Linked DNA regions of Homo sapiens: region 1 is linked to region 2. Evidence: promoter capture Hi-C in human tissues and cell types (Jung and others, 2019). All regions are on one chromosome and are shown on one strand. Each heading gives the region's core, a stretch centred on a gene start or on the middle of the fragment in contact. The rest is flanking DNA. Distances are from core to core; before and after follow the strand shown.

Region 1 (5,151 bases), core at 1,721-4,220, 220 kb after region 2:
TTCCATTTTAAAAAACTGATATATATTCTTTAATAAGTGATTTATCTTTGCATATATATTTTATATCAATCACATTTAGAGTAAGAATCACAGTTATTAATGCTTTATGTGTAACAACTGAATCATCAGCTCCTGAAATAAGTATTAATGATATTCTCATTTCAGAGGTGAGGAAACTTAGGACAGATAAGCAAAATAATCAAATTAGGCTGGGCACAGTGGCTCATGCCTGTAATCCCAGCACTTTGGGAGGCCGAGGCGGGGGGATCACCTGAGGTCAGGAATTCGAGACCAGCCTGATCAACATGGTGAAACCCCGTCTCTACTAAAAATACAAAAATTAGCTGGGTGTGATGGCGGGCGCCTGTAATCCCAGCTATTCGGGAGGCTGAGGCAGGAGAATTGCTTGAGCCTGGGAGGCGGATGTTGCAGTTAGCCGAGTTCCCACCATTGCACTCCAGTCTCAGTGACAGAGCGGGACTCCATCTCTCTCTCTCTCTCTCTCTCTCTTTCTCTCTCTCTCTCTCTCTCTCTCTCTCTATATATATATATATATATATATATATATATATATATATATTTAGAAAATGGGTAGAACTATGAAGAGACATTTCACTGAAGCAGTTATACTGAGATAAATAGGCACATAAAAAGATTTCCAACATCACCATCCATCAAATCTCAGATCTCAGCATATTCTGCTTTAAAAGACTCATCTTGTCACATTTCAGTAAGAGGCAGAATCGAGATTTGAATCCATGTTGTCTGGTTGCAAAGACAAAGCTTTTAATGATGATGCTACAGTAACAATGCTAGTTATTTTTGTCCTTTACTCACCATCTATACCTATTTTGTTAGTATCTCTTGTAATTTTTAAATGGTTTATCTTCATATATCATTGTGATTGTGGTAACTTTGTATTAAATCTATATTTTTATAGATCAATTAAGTCTATATTTTATAGATCACTATTGCGTATGCATCTTACCTAAATGAATGACAGAGACACTCATTACCACATAATCCTGTAAGAACGATTATCCAATCTTTCGAAGGAGGCATCCAGTACCTGAGGTGTTAGTTCTAGTGGTGGCCAGGCGCTGTAGCTCACCCCTGTAATCCCAGCACTTTGGGAGGCCAAGGGGGGTGGATCTCCTGAGGTCAGGAATTGGAGACCAGCCTGGCCAACATGGTGAAAACCCATCTCTACTAAAAATACAAAAAATAGCTGGGTGTGGTGGCGCGTGCGTGTGGTTGAAGCTACTCAAGAGGCTGAGGCAGGAGAATCGCTTGAGCCTGGGAGGTAGAGGTTACAGTAAGCTGAGATCACACCACCGCACTCCAGCCTGGGTGACAGAACAAGACTCTGTCTCAAAAAAAAAAAAAAATCACTAATAATGACAAAGTGCATATTTCTTGAGCTGAGAATATTTTTGTATCTGTGTTTCCATTGTTCGTTTCCAAAAACAATTACAGGTTGCTAATACACATCAACTGGACTGTTCAGTAGAAGCTCCTGTGTTTCTCATGATCTCTGACAGCATCCAGGGGTTCACATGGAGAAAGCAGAATATGCTGAGGTCTGAGATTTGATGGATGGTGATGTTGGAAATCTTTTTATGTGCCCATTTATCTCAGTATATCTGCTTCAGTGAAATGTCTCTTCATAGTTCTATCCATTTTCTAATTTGATTATTTTGCTTTTTTTTTAAGTCGTTCTAGGATTCTTTATACATTCCACATACCAGTTTTATGTCAGATATATGGTAGGCAAATATTTTCTATTATTCAGTACTGTATTAGTCCATTTTCACACTGCCTAAACCCTCCTGTGACAACCTGAGACTGGGTAATTTATAAACAAAAGAGGTTTAATTGACTCACAGTTCCGCATGGCTAGGGAGCCCTCAGGAAACTTACAATCATAGAGGAAGGCAAAGGCGAAGCAAGGCACGTCTTGCTTGCAGCAGGAGAGAGAGCGATCAAAGGAGGAACTATCACAGATTTTTAAACCATGAGATCTCCTGAGAGCTCACTATCATGAGAACGGCTTGGGGAAAACCACCCCCATGATCCAGTCACCTCCCACCAGGTCCCTCCCTCAACACCTGAGGTTTATACTTGAAAATGAGATTTGATGGGGACACTGAGCCAAACCATATCAAATACCTTTTCTTTCATCGTCTGAAGGTCTTTCACAGACCAAAAGTTTTTAATTTGGTAAATACCAGTTGATTTTTTTTTTCTTTAATGAATCATGCTTTTGCTGCTATGGCTAAGAATTTTTGAACAAGCTCTTGATTCTTACGATTTTATTGTGAGTAATTTTTTCTTTCAGTCTCCTACAGGATACCATTTTATGGTTTGATATTTTACATTTAGGCTATGGTCAATGTTGAACTAATGTCTGTACGGTTGTGAAGTTTGAGTAGAGATGACTTCTTTCCTGCTGTGGATATTAAGTTAGCCCCTCACCAGTTTTTAAAAATTCTTCATTCAATTCCCTTGGTAACTTTGTCAAAAATCAGTTGGAAGTACCTGTAGAGGCTATTTTTGTACTCTCTTACTGTATTGCATCAATCCATATGTCTTTTATTGCCCCAAAACCACACAGTTTTTATTACCTTTCCTATATTGGTAGTCTTGAAATCCAGTGGAGTGATTCCAGACACTTCATTTTTGTTTTTTGGTAACTTTTATGGATCCAATCACTGCTAGTTTTGGATTCCCCACCGAAATCCCAGTTCCCGGACTGCTAAGCTGCAGGAGACTCCCTAGCAGGATCGGGTCCAACCTGCAGGCAAAATAGTTTTAACATAAACCGTTTTCAACTTGGTAAGTGGAAAACATTTTGGTTTCCACCATAAGTGGCCCACACAACTCTGATTTTTTTACCTTAAAGCGGCGCAGACCCCGCCCACTCCAGCCATTCCTTCAGGCTGCCCGGGCTCTTCTCTCCGCGCATGCGCAGTTTCCTACAGGCCCGGAAACGGATCGCGTTGGGTGAAGGTGACGGCGTCGAGCGTGAGTGACCCTCTGTGTAGATTAAACCTGCGCTCCCTGTTTCCCATTTCCACAGCCGATGTCCAGGGTCGATACGGCCCTTAAAATCCCCGTACACTCCACCCCAGGTGAATACAGGCCTCGCAGTGTGGGTCCGGAGTCGCTTCCCTTTGGGTTGAAGTCGCTTTGAGGCTGCTCCCCGTCCCCGGCCTTTTGCTTCTTCCTCCCGCTTAAAACCTTTTCCTGACCCCCTCCCCCATCCCCGGGCTTTTTAAAGTCTTCACCCAAGAGGTGTATTCCCGTCCTGGGTGCCTCCCAGCCTTGCCCTCGTCGGCCCCTGGAGCGCAGCGCCGCAGCTGCAGCCGCAGTCCCGGGGAGCCTTGCGTCCTCTGCCTGGTCCTGGGATCCTGCAGACCCCACCCCTGTCTGAAGGCGCTGTCGCGCCCCACCTCCCTCCTCCTCGTGCCGGGCCCCGCTGCTCCCCAGGCCTCCCCTGAGCCCGCGCTGGGGAGGTGCTCAGGGCCTGTCCTGTGACACCCGATGTTCTTGCCTGCCCTCCTCCACCCCGTGGAAAATGCGCTCCTCCAGGATGCAGGCGTCTTACCCCAAACCGTCCTGTGAATGTGTGGGCCAAAGGGATCGAGGGACAGAGAGAGCAGTAGAAAACCTGAGACAGGAAGGAATGAGGCAAACCAATAAACAGATGGCAAAGTAGAGGATGGTTAGAGATTTTCAGAGACAGTAAGAGTGGAAGAAGAAGCCGAGAAAGTAGCAGGGAGAGAAAAGTAACTAGACACATTTCGAGAAAAAGCACAGTATCCAGAGAGATGAAGGACAGCCAGGTAGGGAGAGGGGCAGCAAAGGAGGAGGCTCCTCAGACAGAGAGTGGGGGAGAGCAGAAGGGATTTGGAGCCAGGGCAGACAGGGCAGTGTGGTACCGGGACAGCAAGAGGGGGCAGCCGATGACAAGGAGAAGCAGAGGGAGAACCACAGCACGGGGAGGCCTGGGATCTGGGGGTGCCAAAGAGTGGGGACAACGGTGTGTAACAGGGAAGAGGGAATTTAACAGGGAGTGCTGAAATGGGGAAGAAAGAGCCAGAAATATGTGGAGACTGGGACAATGAAAAGATTAGGAAGAAAGAGGAATTAAATACATTGCAAGAATGGAAAGAGCAAGTGGAAGAGAAAGAATAGAGGGAAGACGGGGAGGAGCAGCAGGAGAGGAGAGGGGCTCAAAATGAGCAGAATCCTAGGGAGAAAATAAAGGGGAAGGAAAGAGCTAGAGAAAGAAGGTGAGAATGAGAGCGATGTACGGAACGAGGGAGGGAAACACACCATAATGAGGAAAGAGGGGGACCCCAGGTCCAGGTGAGTTGTGAACTGACTGGATGTGATGACTACCTTTTGACCTGTTGATTTCTGTCTTTATAAGTTTAAAATGCACAGATGATGAGAATTGCAAAGCTCCTGTCTATTAAGGCTGGTGCATTTTATAATTATGGCATCAGAAGTTAGCTTCCACTTGCAATCCCTGTTAAGGCAGAGGGAAGTGACTTGACTCATTAATTCCACAGGTCATCCTCTTCCCCTTCCCTGGCGTTGGGGCAGGGGGAGGGGAAGGGGGAGTGGGAGAGTAAAGCTGGGCAGAAAGTGAAAGACTGTCACTACATAGTGTCTCTCTAAAGCAGGGGTGTCCAATCTTTTGGCTTCCCTGGGCCACATTGGAAGAAGAATTGTCTTGGGCCACACATAAAGTACACTAACACTAACAATAGCTGATGAGCTAAAAAAAAAAAAAAAAAAAAAAAAAAAAGTTGCAAGAAAATCTCAAAATGTTTTAAGGAAGTTTAGGAATTTGTGTTGGGCTGCATTCAAAGCCTTCCTGGGCTGCGGATTGGACAACGTTGCTCAAAAGGAACATTAAAAGTGTTGAGGCTGGGCATGGTGGCTCATGCCTGTAATCCCAGCACTTTGGGAGGCCGAGGTGGGTGAATCACAAGGTCAGTAGTTCAAGACCAGCCTGGCAAAGATGGTGAAACCCCATCTCTACTAAAAATACAAAACTTAGCCAGGTATGGTGACACGCATCTGTAATCCCAGCTACTCAGGAGGCTGAGGCAAAGCATTGTGTAAACCCGGGAGGCGGAG
Region 2 (5,351 bases), core at 1,236-3,735:
CTCGAACTCCTGACCTCAGGTGATCCACCTGCCTCACTGTCCCAAAGTGCGTGAGGCACCGCACCCAGCTTCATTTTGAATTACTTAATTTACTACTGAGATAGATGTACTATCTTTTTTGTTGTTGGCATTTCAAAGACAGAACTCCCAAGTCCTTTAGAAAAACACCCCTGGATCACCACTAAGATGAAAACAAGTTTTATTGTTTCTAAAAAATACCACTTCTGAAGACAGAGAAAATACATTTACAAATTTTCTTTTTTTTTTTTTTTTTTTTTTGAGACAGAGTCTCGCTGTCACCCAGGCTGGAGTGCAGTGGTGCGATCTCGGCTCACTGCAGGTTCCGCCCCCCTGGGTTCACGCCATTCTCCTGCCTCAACCTCCCGAGTAGCTGGGACTACAGGTGCCTGCCACCTCGCCCAGCTAATTTTTTGTATTTTTAGTAGAGACGGGGTTTCACCGTGTTAGCCAGGATGGTCTCGATCTCCTGACCTCGTGATCCGCCCACCTTAGCCTCCCAAAGTGCTGGGATTACAGGCGTGAGCCACCACGCCCGGCCTCATTTACAAATTTTCTAAATAAACGTCCTGAGAAAAGAGACAAAAGGAAGGGAAATCTTTTCCTTTATTCTCAAAGGAGGAATTATGCCTCTCATTTATTTGCTTGTTTGAGACAGGGTCTAGCTCTGTCACCCAGGCTGGAGTGCAGTGGTGAGATCAGGGCTCACTTCAGCCTCAAAATCCCTGCTTCAACTGATCCTCCCACTTCAGTGCCCAGAGTAGCTGGGACCACAGCAGTGCACCACCACACCTGGCTGACTTTTTTTACTTTTAGCAGAGAAGAGGTCCCCTATGTCGCCCAGGCTGGTCTTGAATCCCTAGGCTCACGTCACCCACCTGCCTGGGCCTCTAAAACCGCTGGGATTACAGGCCTGAGCCACTGCGTCTGGTCTCATCGTAAATTTGATGTTTCTTCTTGTTTTAACAGAATTTGTATTGCTGTGATAGAGGTTCTTTTCAAACTGATGTCTTATCCTTCTGAGTGCCTCAAACTAGAGCCTGTTCAGACGTTATAACAAGTTTATACTGGTTTATTTTGGTACAAAAAGTGTGAAATTTATGCACAAATTTTTCATAATATGTATTTTTCCATGAACTTCTTGAAGACCCTTATACTAGCAAACTGTATTCAAGAGGATATAAAAAGGGATTGTAAACATCCAAGTGCTACCTATTCATGGGATGCAAGGATGGTTCAACATACTCAAATCAATGGGATACACACTTGCACAGAATGACAGATAAAAAACACATTATCTCAATAGATAGAGAAAAAGCATTTCACAGAACTCAATATTCATTCTTCGTAAAAATCCTAAACAATATAGGTAGAGTTTTACCTCAAAAATATAAAAATCATCCATGAAATGACCACAGCTGAAATAACCAATGAAGGAAAATGGAATGGTTTTCCTGTAGGATATCACATGATGCAAGAATGCTCTCACCCCTGATATTCAATAAATACTGGCTGTCCTAGGCAGAGCAATTAAATAGCAAAAGAAATAAAACTCATCCAAATCAGAAAGACAGAAGTAAAATTACATTTGTTGGGGCCGGGCTCATGGCTCACACCCATAATCCCAGCAATTTGCAAGTCCGAAGTGGGCGGATAATGAGGTTAGGCGATCTAACATATTCTTTCAAGTTCTCTTCAAGGTACTCACCATGTTGGCCCACCATCTGGGCCAACATGGTGAAACCCCGTCTTTACTAAAATAAAAAAAATAAATAAATTAGCTAGGTGTGGTGACATGCGCCTGTAGTCCCAGCTACTCAGGAGGCTGAGACAGAATTGCTTGGACGTGGGAGACAGAGGTTGCAGTGAGCAAAGATCATTCCACGGCACTCTAGCCTGGCGACAGAGAGAGACATTGTCTCAAAAAAAAAAATTATTTCCTTGTAGATGATACGACATTCTATATAGAAAATCACTGGCTGGGTGCGGTGGCTCACACCTGTAATCCCAGAACTTTGGGATGCTGATGGGGGCGGATCACCTGAAGTCAGGAGTTCAAGAAAAACCTGGTCAACATGGTGAAACCCCGTCTCTACTAAAAATACAAAAAAATTATACGGACATGGTGGCAGGCACCTGTAATCTCAGTTAGTAGGCAGGAGAATCACTTAAACCCGAAAGGCAGAGGCTGCAGTGAGCCAAGATCGTGCCATTGTACTCCAGTCCAAGTGACAAGAGTGAGACTCCTTCTCAAAAAAAAAGAAAAGAGCCTGGGTAACAGAGTGAGACTGTCTCAAAAAAAAAAGAAAGAAAATCACAAAGAATCAACCAAGATTTTACTGATACTAATAAACCCACTCAATGTATTTGCAGAATACAAAATCAGCACCCAAAATTAGTTGAATTTCCTTACATTAACAATAAATAATGTTTAAAGAAACTTATGAACACACTTCAATTTGCTATGAAACTTAATACTTACAAATAAACTGAATTAAGGAGGTGAGAAGCTTGTACCTTGAAATCTACATTGATCAAAAAAACTAAATAGACATACAACCCATATTGATGGATTGGAAGTCTTAATATTGTTGAATGATTATACAAACAAATGTGATTTAGATTCAACAGATACCCATAAAAACCCGTAACAGTTTTTATTAAAGAAACAAAATACAGGGTGGGAAAAGTGACTCATGTCTGTTGGCCAGTCTGGTCTCAAACTCCTGACCTCAAGTGATCTATTGGTCTTGGCCTCCCAAAGTGCTGGGATTACAGGCGTGAGCCACCCCGCCTGGCCCAATCTTCTTAACATAAACACTTTAATGTCAATTAATGCTTGAACTCAATGTTAAGTCAATTCAAACTCAAGTCAATGCTGAATTGACTCTAATGCCAATTAATGCTTGATGGTTTGCTATACTCATTGCATTTGGAACAATCATCTCAAAAATGAATTTTCTGATGTTCCTTAAGGGGTGATCTCAGACTGAAGACCTTGCCACACTGATGACATTTGTAAGATTTCTGTCCAGTATGGATTCTCTGATGTCTAATTAGGTGTGAACGTGAAGTAAAGGCTTTGCTGCAATCATCATACTTGTGAAGTTTGTCTCCTGTATGAAGTCTCCTGTTTTGCATAAGATGAAGCTAGACTGAAGACCTTGCCACAATCATGACATTTGTAAGGTTTCTCTCCAGCATGAGTTCACCGATGAACTGCAAGGTATGAACAATGTCTGAAAAATTTGCCACATTTATTACACTTTCAAAATCTCTCATTATGGATTCTCCAATGATTTGAAACGGTTGTAGTGTTACTGAAGACTTTGTGATAATCATTACATTAGTAAAGTTTCCCTATACCATGGATTGCCTGATGGTGAATAAGTGTTGACTGCCCACTAAAGGCTTTGCCACACTCAGTACACTTGTAAGGTTTCTCTCCAGTGTGACTTCTAGTTTGTTGGGCCAGGTGTGAATCACGCCCAAGATTCTTGTCACAAACTCTTACATTTGTAAGCTTTCTCTCCAGTATGAATTCTCCTGTCTTTCAAGACTTGATTTACAACTGTAAACTTTGTCACATTCTTCATATTTCTAATGTTTCTTTCCAGTATGAATTCTATGATGACGTGCAAGTTTTGCTTTTCGATTAAAAACCTTGCCACATTCATTACACTTGTAAGGTTTCTCTCCAGTATGAATTGTCTTATGAATTACAAGGACTGAATTGTGACGGAAGGTTTTGCCACACTCATTACACTTGTAAGGTTTCTCTCCAGTATGAATTCTATGATGACATGCAAGGTGTGCTTGTTGATTAAAAACCTTACCACATTTATTACACTTGTAAGGTTTCTCTCCAGTATGAAGTCTATGATGACGTGAAAGGTTTGCTTTTCTATTAAAAACCTTGCCACATTCACTACACTTGTAAGGTTTTTCTCCAGTATGAATTGCCTTATGAATTTCAAGGGCTGAATTGTGACGGAAGGTCTTGCCACACTCATTACACTTGTAAGGTTTCTCTCCACTATGAATTGCCTTATGAATTACAAGGGCTGAATTGTGACGGAAGTTCTTGCCACATTCATTACACTTGTAAGGTTTCTCTCCAGTGTGAATTCTAGTATGTTGTGCCAGGTGTGAATCACGCCCAAAAGCTTTGTCACAAACCTTACATTTGTATGGTTTCTCTCCAGTATGAATTCTCCTGTGTTTTTCAAGGCTTGATTTGCGACTGAAAACTTTGTCACATTCTTCACATTTGTAAGGTTTCTCTCCAGTATGAAGTCTAAGATGGCATGTAAGGGATGACTTCTGACTGAAGGCCTTGCCACACTCATTACACTTGTAAGGTTTCTCTCCAGTATGAATTGCCTTGTGAATTATAAGGGCTGAATTTCGACCGAAGGTCTTGCCACACTCATTACACTTGTAAGGTTTCTCTCCAGTATGAAGTCTACGATGGCATGTAAGGTATGACTTCCGACTAAAGGTCTTGCCACATTCATTACACCTGTAAGGTTTCTCTCCAGTATGAATTCTCCTATGTCTTTGAAGGTTTGATTTGAAACTGAAAGCTTCATCACATTCTTCACATTTGTAAGGTTTCTCTCCACTATGAGTTCGCCAATGAACTGCAAGGTATGAACGATGTCTGAAAAATTTGCCACATCTATTACACTTGTACGATCTCTCTTCATTATGGATTCTCCAATGATTTGCAATGGTTGTAGCATTACTAAAGACTTGGTGACAATCATTACATTTGTAAAGTTTCCCTATACCATGGATTGCTTGATGGTAAATAAGTGCTGACTGCCCACGAAAGGCTTTGCCACACTCATTACACTGGTAAGGTTTCTCTCCAGTATGAAGTCTACAATGGCGTGTAAGGGATGACTTCCGACTAAAGGTCTTGCCACATTCATTACACTTGTAAAGTTTCTCTCCAGTATGAATTATCCTATGTCTTTCAAGGTTTGATTTGAAACTGAAAGCTTCATCACATTCTTCACATTTGTAAGGTTTCTCTCCAGTATGAAGTCTACGATGGTATACAAGGGATGATGTCTGACTGAAGGTCTTGCCACAATCATTACACTTGTAAGGTTTCTCTCCAGTATGAATTCTCCTATGTCTTTCAAGGTTCGATTTGAAACTGAAAGCTTCATCACATTCTTCACATTTGTAAGGTTTCTCTCCAGTATGAAGTCTACGATGGTATACAAGGGATGACATCTGACTGAAGGTCTTGCCACAATCATTACACTTATAAGGTTTCTCTCCAGTATGAAGTCTACGATGGCGTGTAAGGGATGACTTCC

The links. Contacts are between HindIII fragments. The study calls those that stand out against the background at their distance.
Region 1: the fragment with the promoter of ZNF415 here is called in contact with a fragment that was not itself captured in region 2 in 2 of the 25 tissues and cell types used here (bladder and pancreas).

What each region holds. Positions count from the first base shown.
Region 1 is chr19:53,130,729-53,135,879 of GRCh38, reverse strand. ZNF415 (zinc finger protein 415) reads left to right here and starts at 2,970. Exons shown (of 4, transcript NM_018355.4): 1 at 2,970-3,024. ZNF347 (zinc finger protein 347) reads left to right here. Exons shown (of 5, transcript NM_032584.3): 5 at 1-945. The HindIII fragment of the contact is 11,962 bases long and covers 1-5,151 here.
Region 2 is chr19:53,351,856-53,357,206 of GRCh38, reverse strand. ZNF845 (zinc finger protein 845) reads right to left here. Exons shown (of 4, transcript NM_138374.3): 4 at 301-5,351. The coding sequence ends at 3,619. It also overlaps the pseudogene LOC107987264. Among named protein-coding and RNA genes, the nearest start is that of ZNF525, 11 kb to the left of the region's middle. The HindIII fragment of the contact is 6,579 bases long and covers 1-5,351 here.